Linked DNA regions of Homo sapiens: regions 2, 3, 4 and 5 are each linked to region 1. Evidence: promoter capture Hi-C in 16 types of primary human blood cells and fetal thymus (Javierre and others, 2016). All regions are on one chromosome and are shown on one strand. The core of a region is centred on a gene start or on the middle of the fragment in contact, and the rest is flanking DNA. Distances in the headings are between cores, read along the strand shown. Region 1 holds the start of WDR26 (WD repeat domain 26). Region 2 overlaps LOC105373109 (a long non-coding RNA gene). Region 3 has its middle 36 kb from the start of FBXO28. Region 4 has its middle 20 kb from the start of FBXO28. Region 5 overlaps FBXO28 (F-box protein 28).

The links. The method cuts DNA at HindIII sites, captures the fragments that hold promoters and counts their contacts. A CHiCAGO score of 5 or more calls a contact.
Region 2: a contact is called between a fragment that was not itself captured here and the fragment with the promoter of WDR26 in region 1, in 2 of 17 cell types (M2 macrophages and M1 macrophages). The highest score is 5.6, in M2 macrophages.
Region 3: a contact is called between a fragment that was not itself captured here and the fragment with the promoter of WDR26 in region 1, in 3 of 17 cell types (naive B cells, naive CD8 T cells and total B cells). The highest score is 8.3, in naive B cells.
Region 4: a fragment that was not itself captured here is called in contact with the fragment with the promoter of WDR26 in region 1 in 7 of 17 cell types (naive B cells, naive CD8 T cells, non-activated CD4 T cells and 4 more); the score reaches 7.2 in naive B cells.
Region 5: a fragment that was not itself captured here is called in contact with the fragment with the promoter of WDR26 in region 1 in 4 of 17 cell types (naive CD8 T cells, total CD8 T cells, total CD4 T cells and 1 more); the score reaches 6.3 in naive CD8 T cells.

Annotation. Positions count from the first base shown.
Region 1 is chr1:224,433,437-224,436,253 of GRCh38, forward strand. It overlaps WDR26 (WD repeat domain 26), which reads right to left and starts at 1,361. Exons shown (of 14, transcript NM_001379403.1): 1 at 248-1,361. The coding sequence starts at 969. It also overlaps a transcript of CNIH3 not described here. RefSeq lists a silencer at 1,340-1,739 and an enhancer at 2,080-2,269. The HindIII fragment of the contact is 13,558 bases long and covers 1-2,817 here.
Region 2 is chr1:224,913,740-224,916,556 of GRCh38, forward strand. All of the region lies in intron 1 of LOC105373109 (a long non-coding RNA gene), which reads right to left. Among named protein-coding and RNA genes, the nearest start is that of DNAH14, 15 kb to the right of the region's middle. The HindIII fragment of the contact is 2,211 bases long and covers 326-2,536 here.
Region 3 is chr1:224,076,313-224,079,129 of GRCh38, forward strand. No RefSeq gene overlaps it. Among named protein-coding and RNA genes, the nearest start is that of FBXO28, 36 kb to the right of the region's middle. The HindIII fragment of the contact is 155 bases long and covers 1,311-1,465 here.
Region 4 is chr1:224,092,623-224,095,439 of GRCh38, forward strand. No RefSeq gene overlaps it. Among named protein-coding and RNA genes, the nearest start is that of FBXO28, 20 kb to the right of the region's middle. The HindIII fragment of the contact is 2,375 bases long and covers 280-2,654 here.
Region 5 is chr1:224,160,659-224,163,475 of GRCh38, forward strand. FBXO28 (F-box protein 28) reads left to right here. Exons shown (of 5, transcript NM_015176.4): 5 at 1-1,389. Among named protein-coding and RNA genes, the nearest start is that of DEGS1, 21 kb to the right of the region's middle. RefSeq lists an enhancer at 1,754-2,254. The HindIII fragment of the contact is 5,297 bases long and covers 1-2,817 here.

The sequences.
Region 1 (2,817 bases), core at 111-2,610:
TCAACGCCTGTCTCGTCTCACAATTTGTCAGACTGATTGATTTTCCCCTATTTCCTTTCAGGTCCGCTCCTCCTCCCCGGTCGCCCTGAGCCGCGTCCTCCTGTGTACTGGGTCCTGCGTGCCCAGCACTCATTCTCTTTGACCGAGCTCTTTCAAGCCCCCCTCCCCCCTCCGCCCCTTCCCCTACCCCCCTGGAGCCTCCGTCCCTCGGTCTGTCCATCACCAGCTGGCGGTAAGGGATACTTACTTGAGCCCTAAGCCATTCAAGTGCTGTCCTATTAGCCTAATGACATCCTCATCTGACTGGGAGAGCCGCTTCTTCTTCTTGAGGCTGCTGCCCAGTTCTGGGGTGGCCAAGGAAGAGGAGGCGGCGGTGGTGGCGGAGGCAGCTGCGACGGTGGCTGAGGATGCGGCGGCCGCCCCGCCGGGAACCCCGTTATTGACATTCAGGCTGTTGCTATTGTTGCTGGCGGCGGAGGGGGCGGAAGGCAGGAGCCCATTGGCGTGGGCCAGGTCCCCCGCGGACGACGACGACGAGGGGGACGACTCCCCGTTCTGGGCCGACAAGCAGGCGAGTTCCGGGGTCTGTCCCTGGCCCCCGCCGCCCCCTCCTCCTCCACCGCCGCCGCCGCCACCTCCTCCTCCTCCTCCTGCCCCATTGGCCTGCATGATGCTGCCGCTGACCAGGCTGTGGCCGCTACTTCGGTGGGGGACAGCAGCGGCGGCGGGAGGGGCAGCAGCCGGGGGAAGTCCCACCACTACCACCACGGAGGAGGAGGAGGAGGAGGAGGACGAGGACGACGAGGACGGAGGGGAGAGGCCTGCTCTGCCTGCCGAAGCCCCGGGCTCTCCTACTCCCTCCGCCGCCGAGGCTCGGGGTTTCTTCCGCGGGGGCGGGGAGGCTCCGCCGGTGTCCGAGTCGGAGGAGGAGGAAGCGGAGGCCAGAGTTTCCTCGCCGAGAGAGGCCGTGGTGGGAAGCCGGTGGGGCGAGGCGGGGGAGGGGAGGCGGGGGCCGGGGAGAGGGTCGGGGTGAGGGGGGCCGGGGAGGCGGGGAGGGGGTCAGGGTAGGAGGGTGAGGGTGAGGGTGAGAGGAGGGGGAGGAGGAGGAGGGGGAGAAGGAGGATCCGGGCCCTTTCCCCCCCCCCTCCCGGAGGCAGCTCGGGGTGCGCGGCCCGGGGGTCGCGCCGGGGGGCGCCGCGGGGCGGCTGCGGGGGCGCGGGGCCCGCCGCTGGGCTGAGCCCCGGCAGTGGCTGCGGCGGCGGCGGCGGCGGGCGGCAGCGGAGGCAGCTGCCGCCTCTGTCCTCGGATCCGCTCCGCTCTGCTCCCTGGTGTGTTGATTCTTCCCCCAGCTGCTGCCTAATGGAGTCCAGGCGCTCGCGTCACAGGAAATGCCTATACTGCCCTCCTCACTCACTTCCGGTGGCAGGTATGGAACCTATAGGGGGCCTGTCACCCAGCACGTGCATCGGGGGCTGTCCCGGGGGTCAGGGGAGGGAGGCCAGCGGGCCGGCGGGGTCCGCCCCGACCCCATCCACGACCCCGACTCCTATCCGATCCTATCCCCGGCCCCGCTCGGGCCTTTCCCCTTGCGCCCTGGCTCGGCTGGCTCGACGAGCAGTAAGTTCGTAGCCGCCCTCCGAAGCCGGGCGTGCATGGGATGGCAGAGTTGGCGTGCGTGCGTGAGTCCACCAGTGTGGCATGGGCATGTAAGGTGCGCGGAGGGACTGCACCTTCTCCATCAGGTGCAGAAGGTGAGGATGGGGCAGGGGGCTAGGAGCTTCGACAGGCAGGAACTTCCAGGCACAGGGCTGTGGTAGGCCCCTCTCAATGGTAACCAGGACCGAAATCGGGTTTCACAACCTACTTGTTTTAGGGTGGAAAAACTTGAATTTCCACAGCCAAGTGCCACACAGTTGCTGTACCCGGGGCCATCCCGGGAGCTGTGAGATAATGAGCCGGTGAGACTCTGCTCCACCCTGGGAAGGGGAGTTAGTCTAGAGGAGCATATCTTATGGGGACAAGAAGTCACAAAAAGGCTGTGTGGTGTGTAGAGAAGGGGAGGGACTCTGCTGTTGAGGCTTCACTCTTTTTTAGCACTTGCCCAGCACCTCCTTCTCTCTTCCAGCTGCCTCTTGAGTCACTGCCCAGTTTAGGGAGCAGTAACATAAACCAAACAGTTGCCTCCAAAATATGCATTCTGAGAAGGATTCAGGCACCCATTCAGATCCAGGCTTGAAATTTTTACGTGGCATGTGAGCCTTCTGTGTCATCATGACTTACCAATTTATGTGAATGTAGAAATGCAGCAACAAAGACTGGGCTGAATCTTAATCATTGGCAAATGGTGTGCATTATCCCCAAACAATTATTTTCATGTATGTGGTTGATAGCATCTATACTCAATATGTATAAAGATTTTCTCAGAAATTTAAAGTCTTTCTCTGAAGTAGTTTTCCTGTGGGGAGGGGAAAAAAAACACCTTAGTTTCTAATTAATACATCATACATCGCTGATATTTATTATAGTAATAACTGAAAGTAATTTTGAGGCCTTTGGAGACAGTTGTTTTTAAATTTGGAAATACAATAAAAAATGATGCTGATGAGAAATTAGTAAAGAATCCTGAGGTTTATGGATCCTCAGACAGGAAGAAGTAAGAGGAAGGTCAATGCAGGATCTTACAGGGATTTGGTTTTGTAGTTCTTACTGCTTAAATTTGCTTCCAGGTGGCAGCTGTAATTGCAAGGTGACTCACATACAGTGTTTATATTCACCTGAGGCCGACCTGAGTTCTAGTTGAGGTTCATAGAGCTCTGT
Region 2 (2,817 bases), core at 181-2,680, 480 kb after region 1:
ACAACACTGCACTCCAGCCTGGGTGACAGAATAAGACCCTGACTCAAAAAAAAGTTGACTTAATTAAAAGCTGGCATTTAGCAGATATGTGTGTGTGTGTGTGTGTGTGTGTGTAGACCTCTGTTGTCTCCATAGAAGCTTATCAGTCAACTGAATTCATTTCTTCTTAAACCTTTAATTATAGGCACTCCTTTGTTCTGCTTCTCTTTTGATGACATAATTTTTGCCAATGATAATGTAAAACTTCCTTGACCTTTTGGAAATCTTGAATTCTCCCTCTATGAAATGTAAATTTGCTATCCTATTTTCTCTAAAATTCAGTAAAAGCTTTGGACATAACTTGTTCCATTTACAGAGGTACAATTTAATCCAAGTGTTCTTTTAAATGAGTGAGTTTTACTTGTCTTATGGCAGAAATTATAAAATCTATACTATAAAATATTTATTTTGTATTTTTACTATACATATATGCATGTCTGTGTTTGTATATTGCCTACCTGGTACCAAATTGACTTGTAAATAAATGAGTACTCATAAATTAAGTAAATATGTGCAAAAACTTTTCAAGTTCACATGACTTTAGTAATCTTTGATAAATAAAGCTAGTTTTAAAATTGCTGATAAAATAAAACTTGAATGTCTTCAGAACAGTCAGTATTAAATACAATTCAGACATTTTGCCTGGGACTACTGGTCAGAAAGGTTTAGACTGTCTCTGATAGAAGTTTTCAGGTCATAAAACTGTTGTTTTCTGTGACATTTTTGATAGCTGTTTGGTTTATCTATGATCTTATGTGTTTAGTTTTGAGCCTTCAGATTGTAAGGTCTAGACAAGTGCCCATAGTGAGGTCTGGTGACTTAGGCCACCCCAGCTTTGGTACAGAGCCAAGCCCAGGATGTCCTCCCTGACTCGGCTGTGCCTTCTAGCCATGCTGGGAGGAATCAGATCCTCCAGGACTTGTCTTCACAGCCTTCTCTGTCCTGGGTTCTACACCTGGTACATAACAATTAAAATTGCTTACTTCCTAGGTTTTTCAGTAAGAATTAGGGTTACTAAGAGTTAACATTGTAATTAATATATGTGATTAAAACTACTAGATGTAAGAGAAACTATTCTGTATATAAAGTGTAAAAGAAAAATAGGATGTGTTTTGGTAAAGAAAGTTTTCTAAAAAGATGTTAAAATGTTTAACAGATAAGTAAGTTTGCCTGGCTTAAAGGTGATGTAAAAGTTATTTAAATTAAAAAAGATAAACTAAACATATATAAAAAACTGGGGAAAAAGAAAATGGGAAAAATTGTAATAGGTTATAAAAGGCTTATGAAAATCTTATGCTGTGTGATCAAAGCTGATCAAGATTCGATGGATCTGTATATAAGGTTTTATTAAAATTAGATTTAATAATAATACATTGATACAAGGGTTACATTTGTTTTTTTCTTCTGAACAATATTTTCATATAGTATTAATAAGATATAGTAAAATATTTTTGTTCACCTTTTCAGTAAATTGCAAAATTTTTAAAAGGAGAGGAGAATGGGAGAGATAATCTGATGCTGCCTTTATTAGGTCTTTTGATTGGAAAACTGAGTTGCTGCTCTATTGAGTAAAAGTTTTTGCTTTCTGAAATCTTTGAATTATCACTTTAGCTAAATAGATGACTATTATTTTAGAGTGACCTGTGATTTATTTTAATATCAAGTGTCTTCAACCTTTGATATTTGACATACCTCCCAAAAACAAAATTCAAATTCTAAAATTGAGTCTTTTTGACCTCAAAGTAACTCTTGGACATTCAAAAAAATGGAGGGCTCTTGAAAATCCAAGAGGGACATATTAGGCTTATTGGGATGTTAAAGGGATGTTAAAATCATATGGGAAGTATTATCCAATAAGAAATGGTGTTTGACTTTCTTTGAATTATCTTTGTGTGGATGTTATTAATGTATGCTCTCCAAAATTGTATGAGGTTTTATAAAAATCTGATATGTCTTGATATATGCAGTAAATCACTTTTTATCCTCAAACCTTTTTGCAAATGCTAAAGCATTGTGTCTTCAAGGAAATTAATGGAAAGGACTATGACAAGTACTCTTGAATACAGGTTTCTGATAACTTTGGAGATTATACCATTGGATGAGGTAAAAACATTCAGAACTCTAATAAAAAACTGATGGGTTTATAAACATTGCTAACCCAATTTCAAACACAGCAAAAGTTAATTACATAGGACTGAATGACAGAAGACTGAAATAATTTGTTATGACTTCATTTTGTTTGAAATACTGCTGATTGTTTTTATATTTTGCTTTCTAGAGTCAATACATTTTTTAAGCTATTTATAGTTTACAGCAATTGAGTAAAGTATACTTTTGTGAGAAAAATTGAAACATTTACCTTTCTCTCTACCTGATTTCTCTAGAATTTGAAAATTGTATTCTCATTTTATTGCAATGTGGCTATTTGTATAAGTTCAATAAGAATCTCTTTTCCTTTTGTAACAGGACACATTGGAAACACTGGTTATTTTACTAAAGCTTTGAATGGAATGTCATATTTTCAAGTTTGAGCAGACTGCTTTGAGGGATTAATGTTGACTTTATAAAACCAAGACTTGGAAAAAATGGCCTGGTACCTTGTCTATATTTTTCCTTTGCAGGATCCTGACCTTGGGGTAAGTAATGCCACTTTCTGATAGGCACAGAAACCTCAAGATATTTGGGGATCTTTGGAAGACAGGCTATTTTGGGACCTTTGGAAGATAGGAATTCAACTGATTTATGAGCTGTCCTCAACCTTGCCCCAAATAAACTCTC
Region 3 (2,817 bases), core at 138-2,637, 360 kb before region 1:
TTCTAGCATATCACCTTTTCTCCAAGAAGTTTAAGCCATACTCAAATGGCTAGTGATAAAATTTAGCACAGCATAACCTCAAGCTGGGACCAGGGACAGCCAAAACTCAACCTGAGAAACTCTAATTCCAAGAACATTTGGGGGAATTCCTGATCATGTTAAGGGAAAAAGAAATGGTTTCTGAAAAGAAAGAGAAAAATAAAAGCCCAAAATCAATAGTAAATGGAGAAACATAACTTCATAACTGCCTAAGCAATCTTTCATTGGCTTATAATACCGTAGCTCTAGGGTTACTCAGAAATAGAATGATGGCGTGTTTCTATGGGTTCCTTGAGGAGTTCATTCTTTCATGTAATTAGTTTGCTTACTTATTTGTTTGAGTGTGCATTTAGAACCTGTCTTAGTCTAAAAAAGATTTAAGGTAACATGCTACTATAATATCTTCGGAGAGAAATTGAACAATCTATGTGGTTTTCTTTGCCCTCATTAAAAGAGATTTCTACTGACTGGAGAAAAAGATTATCTAAGTAGGAAAGTAGTACAATACTCTGGTATGCCAAAATAACATTAAGAAATTCTCTGCATCGAAACAATGCCATTTGGCTGGGCGCAGTGGCTCATGCCTGTAATCCCAGCACTTTAAGAGGTCAAGGCAGGAGGATCACCTGAAGTCAGGAGTTCAAAACCAGCCTGGCCAACATGGTGAAACCCCATCTCTACTAAAAATACAAAAATTAGCTGGGCATGCTGGCACATGCCTATAATCCCAGCAACTTGGAAGGCTAAGGCAGGAGAATCTCTTGTACCTGGGAGGCAGAGGTTGCAGTGAGCTGAGATCGTAGCACTGCACTCTAGCCTGGGCAACAGAGCGAGACTCTGTTTCAAAAAAAAAGAGAAAAAATGACATGCAAAATATGCATTTTGAAGCCAATATTTTGCAGAGGAAAGAATATTATGCGCAATATACTTAGAGGAAGTCAGATTATTATTTTTATAAGCTACAGAGATGAAGGTGATACTGTCAAAGATGCCTTTTTGGTATAATGACATGTGAAGCTTTGTGATAGGAGCTGTTTACTGCAAGAGTTTAGAATGTGGCCATAAAATAACCCACTAATGGCAAACTATAGATATGTCAAGAAGACATTATTTTTCACTAGAAAAAAAAGGGTGAGCCCTTTCTAGCCTGTTAAGTGTATTGATGGCTTTTTGGCAGAGCTTTATTATTGTGAATCTCTCACTTGAAAAGCGTATTTCCGACATTTGTCACCTTGACTCCTTGGGGAGATTATTACACTGGTGGATTTTTAAGCTTGCTTTACAGGATATAAAAGTGTAGAGGATTAAACCATTTTTCCTTGGTCACTGCTAAGGGGACAGGCTAGGAACCATGAACTTAGATGGCGGCAGCCCTTTGCTGCCACCTCAAATTTCAAACTTCAATGACATTTCAGAAAGCCTAGGAAGCTTTTAAATGTAAATGGGAAGAGAAATCGATTTTGGCATTCCTAAGCCTATAGCAGGTCCTTCTAGATTCTAATAGAAATCTCAGTTTCAATTTTCAACATTTTGGTTTTGTTCAAAACTAATGCTGCACATATTTTCACTAACCATTAGTATAAGTAAGGTTTGGTGGAGAGTAAGCGGTCTCCACCAACTTGTACAGGTGGAAATGGACCTGAAGATCGTTCATCCAGTCCATGAATATTTACAGAGCAACAGTTGTGTAGTGCCCTCCTAAATTCCAGCATAACCAAGTGCCAGCTGTTAAGCAGCCTTCAGGCCAGAGGGGAAATAAGATAATCACATACAAAAAACGAAATAAGAACATAGGTCTGTGCATTCTTAAATGATCAATGAATGGGGCAGGCATTAAGTAGCCATCAACTGGTTCATTCTTTTCTTTTTCTTTCTTTTTTTTTTTTTTTTTTTTCTTTTTTTCTGAGATGGAGTCTGGCTCTTGTTGCCCAGGCTGGAGGGCAATGGCATGATCTTGGCTCACTGCAAACTCTGCCTCCTGAGTTCAAGCGATTCTCCTGCCTCAGCCTCCTGAGTAGTTGGAATTACAGGCACCCACCACCATGCCTGGCTAATTTTTGTATTTTTAGTAGAGACGGGGTTTCACCATGTTGGCTAGGCAGGTCTTGAACTCCTGACCTCAGGTGATCCACCCACCTCAGCCTCCCACTTTTCTTTTTTCTTTTTTCTTTTTTTTTGAGACAGGATCTCATTCTGACACCTAGGCTGAAATGCAGTGCCACTATCGTGGCTCACTGCAGCCTCAACCTCCCATGCTCAAGCAATACTTCTGCCTCAGCCTCCTGAGTAGCTGGGACTACAGGTGCACACCAACATGCTTGGCATTTTTTGTTTGTTTGTTTGTTTGTGTTTTTGTTTTGTAGAGAAGGGATCTCCCTATGTTGCCAAGGCTGAGCCACTAACTTTCTGAGAAGGGAGGTATCATTAGAGGATAGAGAGGCATCATTACTCAATGGAACCCGGCTTCCTGTATTCAAATCTTGGCTCAGCCATTTGCCAGCCCTATGACCTGAAGCAAGTTACTTTACCTACCTCTGCCTTGGTTTCTGATCTGTAAAGAGCCGAGGTAAGGGTGGGGATAATGTAGAAGCAAAAACTGACACTTTGCATTGTCTCCAATAAGATCAAACGTCTTACATTCCATAGTGAGGAAAAAAAAAAACAGAATGCTTTGAATATGAGATAAACCAAAAATAAGTCACCCTGTCTCATTCTGATCCCCAAAATAAAATCTTAAATATCTCCACAAACTCCTTAAAAAAAAAAGAATCTCTTGTT
Region 4 (2,817 bases), core at 217-2,716, 340 kb before region 1:
TCTTTAATTCATTAATGTCTGATATAGTTTGGACATTTGTCCCCTCCAAAATTCATGTTGAAATGTAATCCCCAATGTTGGAGGTAGGGCATGGTAGGAGGTGTTTGTGTCATGTGGGCAGATCCCTCATGAATGTCTTGGTCCTGTCCTCGTGACAGTGAGTGAGTTCTCACAAGATCTGGCTGTTTAAAAGTATGTGACACATCCTGCCCCCCTTGCTGCCTCTCACTCTTGCCATGTGACGAGGCTGCTCCCACTTCACCTTCCACTGTGATTGTAAGCTTCCTAAGGCTTCACTAGAAACAGATGCTAGAGCCATGCTTGTACAGCCTGCAGAACTGTAAGCCAGTTAAATCTCTCCTCTTTTCTTTATAAATTACCCAACCTCAGTTGTTTCTTTATAGCAATGCAAGAACAGCCTAACACAATATCACTCCTGAGAAATTATTCTAAAATAGTTTTAATTTTTAATTTTAATCTGTAATGTAAGTAAAAAATTAGAAACAACCAAAGTGTCCAATATTTGGTAAATGGATGGGTTAACTGTAGACATTTTTTTTTTTTTTGAGATGGAGTCTCACTCTGTCACCCAAGCTGGAGTGCAGTGGTGCCATCTCGGCTCACTGCAACCTCTGCCTCCCAGGTTCAAGCAATTCTCCTCCCTCAGCCTCCCGAGTAGCTGGGATTACAGGCACATGCCACCACACCCAGCTAATTTTTGTATTTTTAGTAGAGACGGGGTTTCTCCATGTTGGCCAGGCTGGTCTCATACTCCTGACTTCAAATGATCTGCCTGCCTCGGCCTCCCAAAGTGCTGAGATTACAGACATGAGCCACCCTGCCCAGCCTAGACATTTAACATTATAATTACCAATTGCTGTGGTCTGAATGTCTATGCTCCCCCAAAATTCATATGTTGAAACCTATTCCCTAATGTGATAGTATTAAGAGGTGGGGGTTTGGGGAGGTGATTAGGTTATAAGGGTGGAGCCCTTAGGAATGAGATGAGTGCCCTTATAAAAGAGGTCCAAGGAAACTTATTCATCCTTCCCATCAGGTGAGGACACAGCAAGAAGGCATCATCTATGAAATAGAATGAGCCCTCACTAGACATGAAATCTGGTGGCACTTTGATCTTGGACTTTGCAGCCTCTAGAACTGTAAGAAAGAAATTTAAATTGTTTATAAGCCACCTAGTTCATGGTATTTTTATTACAGCAGTTTGAATGAACTAAGTCACCAACCTTATACAACATCAAGGAAAAAAATATTTCTAATATGTTATATATTTTTTAAAAACCCACCAAAATGTATTTGTTTACTTTTTTTTTTTTTTTTAGACAGGGTCTTGCTGCGTCACCCAGGCTGAAGTGCACAGGCACAATCATGGCTCACTGCAGCCTCAACCTCCTGGACTCAACTGATCCTCTTGCCTCAGCCTCCTAAATAACTGGGACCACAGGTGCTCGCCACAATGCCTAGTTATTTTTTTATTTTTTTTTTTAGTAGAGACAAGGTCTTGCTATGTTGCTCAGGCTGGTCTTGAACTCCTGGGCTCAAGCAATTCTCCCACCTCAGTCTCCCGAAGTGCAAAGTTTAAATTTATAGATTTTTGGCCGGGCCCAGGGGCTCAGGTCTGTATTCCCAGCATTTTGGGAGGCCGAGGCAGGTGGATCACTTGAGGTCTGGAGTTCATGACCAGCCTGGCCAACATGGTGAAACCCTGTCTCTACAAAAAATACAAAAATGGTACCATGCACCAGTATCCCCAACTACTCAGGAGATTAAGGCCGAGAATTGCTTGAACTCAGGAAGCAGAGGTAACAGTGAGCCGAGATTGTGCCACTGCACTCCAGCCTGGGTGACAGAGTGAGACTTTGTCTTAAAAAATAAATAAATAAATAAATTTGTAAATATTTATGTTAAAAATATGTAAAATGAGAGTATAGTATACAAGGAATTGCAGAGAAGTGAAACTACTGTATTAGAACAGCAAAAATAGAGGTAGTTTATGTTTTTTAATTTTTTCTTTAATGCTGGTTCAATAAATTTTTACAAGAAAAATTTTATACAAAACACAATGATGTTTACTCTCAGATCTTGTGGGTACTATTCAGCAATGTATGCCTGAAGACTGGGTTTTCGAAACCTGCTGAACCTAAGAACTTCCTGAAGTTCTTGTTAATATAGGTTCCCTGGATGCACCCCAGATGCATTGAATCCACGTCTCCAGAGAAGGTACCCAAGAATCTTTGTTTTTAATAAGCACTGATGATTTGGCAACCACTAATTTCGGGCAGCAAATGACATCATTGTGACTTGAAAGAGCCAGTGTCTACCAATTGACTTGCACCCATAAGTATATGTTTCTCATGCCTCCTTATTCCCTCTTATTAAAGAACCTCAACCTTGTTCTTTTATGAGCTCAAAGGATAGCAATGTTCTCAAGTAATACATGCTAACAGAAAAAAAAAATTAGAGCCTGCCTTGGGTTACTCAATGAATTACAGGTAGAGAGCAGACCAAGATATTGTTTATGCAATCTGCAGGCAGAAAAAAAGAAGCTATTTTTTTAGTGGCATTAAAATGATTGCAATGATAGATTGGGAAGAGGGTAATAACAGAAGAAGGAAGTAGATAGGAACACAAAATCAAGCTTCCTATAGTCAGAGGGAAAGATGCCCCTGTTCCTTCATTTTCCTTCCCACCCTCAGCCAAAGTTAAGGGTGAGTGGCTACACAGTCAGAGTCTGTCCAGGAACCCAGCTCAAGTTTTGTTAGGCTAAATGCTGTGAAGAAGTTCCCAGGGGGAAATGGT
Region 5 (2,817 bases), core at 96-2,595, 270 kb before region 1:
TACTTTAAAATAGTTTTAAAGACTATTGGGGTACCATCAGGTCAAAAGCCACTGATTTGGGAAGCAATTTTTTTGCAAAACACTTTTTTTGGAGTACTGAACTTTACAGGGGCTTGCCTTAATCTCTATTTAGTAGTTTCAAGATATATGCGCAATTATTCTACGTGTTAAAAATGTTAAAATATTCTATGTAGCCCCAAAGGTGGGTAAAACAGTATAAGTAATGCCTAAATTAATAAGCTAAAAGGTGTCACTACAGCTGGATTTTTGAGAGAAAATGGACATAAAACTAGGCTATGTGTAATAAAAATAATGGCACCTTAAGATTGCACTATTTTATGCATTATTTTATATGCCATTTCATAGCCTGCACTTTAATCTCCAAAGAAACGATGTATGATGTCCCACTTGTTCCTTATTCTTAATAAACTTTTTCCTGAGACAGGGCACTTAATTCTATTTTACTATACTGAATTAGTTTCTTGGAGGTAGATTCATTTCTTGAGTTCTCTGTTTCCTTAGCCATAATATTTTCTAGGATCCGGGAACTCCCTATATTGTCTATTTCCAACATTATATAATTTTAATTTAATGTAATGTAAATCTCATACTTGGTGATCAGCACATTCTTATATCCTGCTCTAGCAATGAGTACCCATTTGTTACACTTACCAAACTCTCTAAAAACATATACTGTGAGTAAGATTTGAAGCCAGGAATAAAAGGCAGTCTGAAAGAAAACGTCCTATACGATGCAGTTGTTTGGAAATGGCTGATTTCTGATATGAAACCCAACTTGATACACTGTTTGGTTCTTTGACTTGGGATCTATCTGAATTGCTTTCACTAGTACACAAAAGGTTAAGTTAAAACTACTTTAAACTTGTATAGCCTGCCATCTGAGGTGAATTATTTTCAAAAAATACTAAATCTATGAACTGAGACTAGCAATTAGTTGGCTGCTCCCTACCATGATTTTACTTTTAATAGCAATACAGTTATATTGGTGATAAATATGACAGGCTTAAGTACTGCTGTCCTTTTGCATCTTCCTAAGCATCTTGGTTAAATTTCTGAAGTTTAAAAATTAGATCCAGATTTCTTCTGTTGTGTCTGAAGAGAACCATGACATTTAGAAGTATATTGGTAATCTATTAGGTCCATTGGCAAAGTATATTGGTCCATATTCAAACCTATTCCAAAAGGTTAGAAGTGTTTAAGATTCCTTTATTGTGGTACCATGTCTGTTTACCTATGCTTATGAGCAACAATAAATTACTAGTTTACCTTCTGGAATTTTAATTGTTATAACCGAATCAATTATTGGAAAGTGAAAAACACCTCCCGGTCACACAACAGGGTACGTAAATAAATGTGTTGTTACCAGTGCTACTTGTTTTCTTTGTATTTCATGCACAAAAGAATATGGAGCTCTATTGCTAACATACCATATTGATAGCTACTGTCTTTTGGAGCACTGTACTATGTGTTTTACAGATGTTACAGTGGTCCTCACAGCTACCTTATAAAGTAGGTTTTACTCTACGTGGGGAAGTTGAACTCAGGCTAAGCAACATGTCCACAGTGTTATGCAAGTAAGTGGCGTAAGTGGGATTTGACCCATGAGCTCTGAAGTTTATAAACTTGCTACTACACTACACTGCATCCTAGAAACCTGAGAACAATGAGACTCTGAACTTAATATAAGCAAGACCATCCCACACATCCACTAGAAGCAGTCAATGCCCAAATCACTAATGCTAACAGTAGTATATAGAACTGAGATCAAGAAAAGGCTGGGCTAGGCCGGGCACGGTGGCTCACACCTGTAATCCTAGCACTTTGGGAGGCCGAGGCGGGGCAGATCACAAGGTCAGGAGTTCGAGACCAGCCTGACCAACATGGTGAAACCTCATCTCTACTAAAAATACAAAAATTCGCCGGGCGTGATGGCAGGTGCCTCTAATCCCAGCTACTCGGGAGGGTGAGGCAGGAGAATTGCTTGAACCTGGGAGGCAGAGGTTGCAGTGAGCCAAGATTGTGCCACTGCACTCTAGCCTGGGTGACAGAGTGAGACTCCGTCTCAAAAAAAAAAAAAAAAAAGCTGGGCTTGGAGGAGGCAACTTTTAAGGTTATTTGCACACAAGGGGTTCACCCTAGGTGTACAAGTAAAAGAGAATGTTTAAAAGGCTTCCAGAACCTGTAATCTTAAAATCAGAGAAGTCCTGGCAGTAGATGTGCGCTAAGGCTACTGACATGTCTAAAGTCACCTTCTGGCCGGGTGCGGTAGCTCACACCTGTTACTGCAGCATTTTGGGAGGCCAAGGCGGGTGGGTCATTTGAGGCCAGGAGTTTGAGACCAGCCTGGCCAATGTGGCAAAACCCCTCTCTATTAAAAATACAAAAATTAGCCAGGCATGGTGTCGCACACCTGTAGTCTCAGCTACTAGGGAGGCTGAGGCATGAGATTCGCTTGAGCTGGGGAAGTGGAGCTTACAGCGAGCCGAGGTCACGCCACTGCACTCCAGCCTGGGCAACAGAGAAAGACTGTTTCAAAAAAGTCACCTTCCTGTATAATATATGCTGCTGGTCAGTAGAAAAGTAGCAACTACCAATTCTTTCACCCTGCGAGGGTGGGGTACTAGTTCTCTTTTCAAGACTACGTCCAGTTCCAAAACTAAATGGTTAGAATTTCAACAAAATAAAATTATATAAATCAGTTTAACCTGTTCCTTAAAGGTGTAACTGATAGGGAATTGCTGAAAACAATTCTCTGAAGAAGAGAAAACTTATCTAAGTTCTTTAACCCCAGCCTGT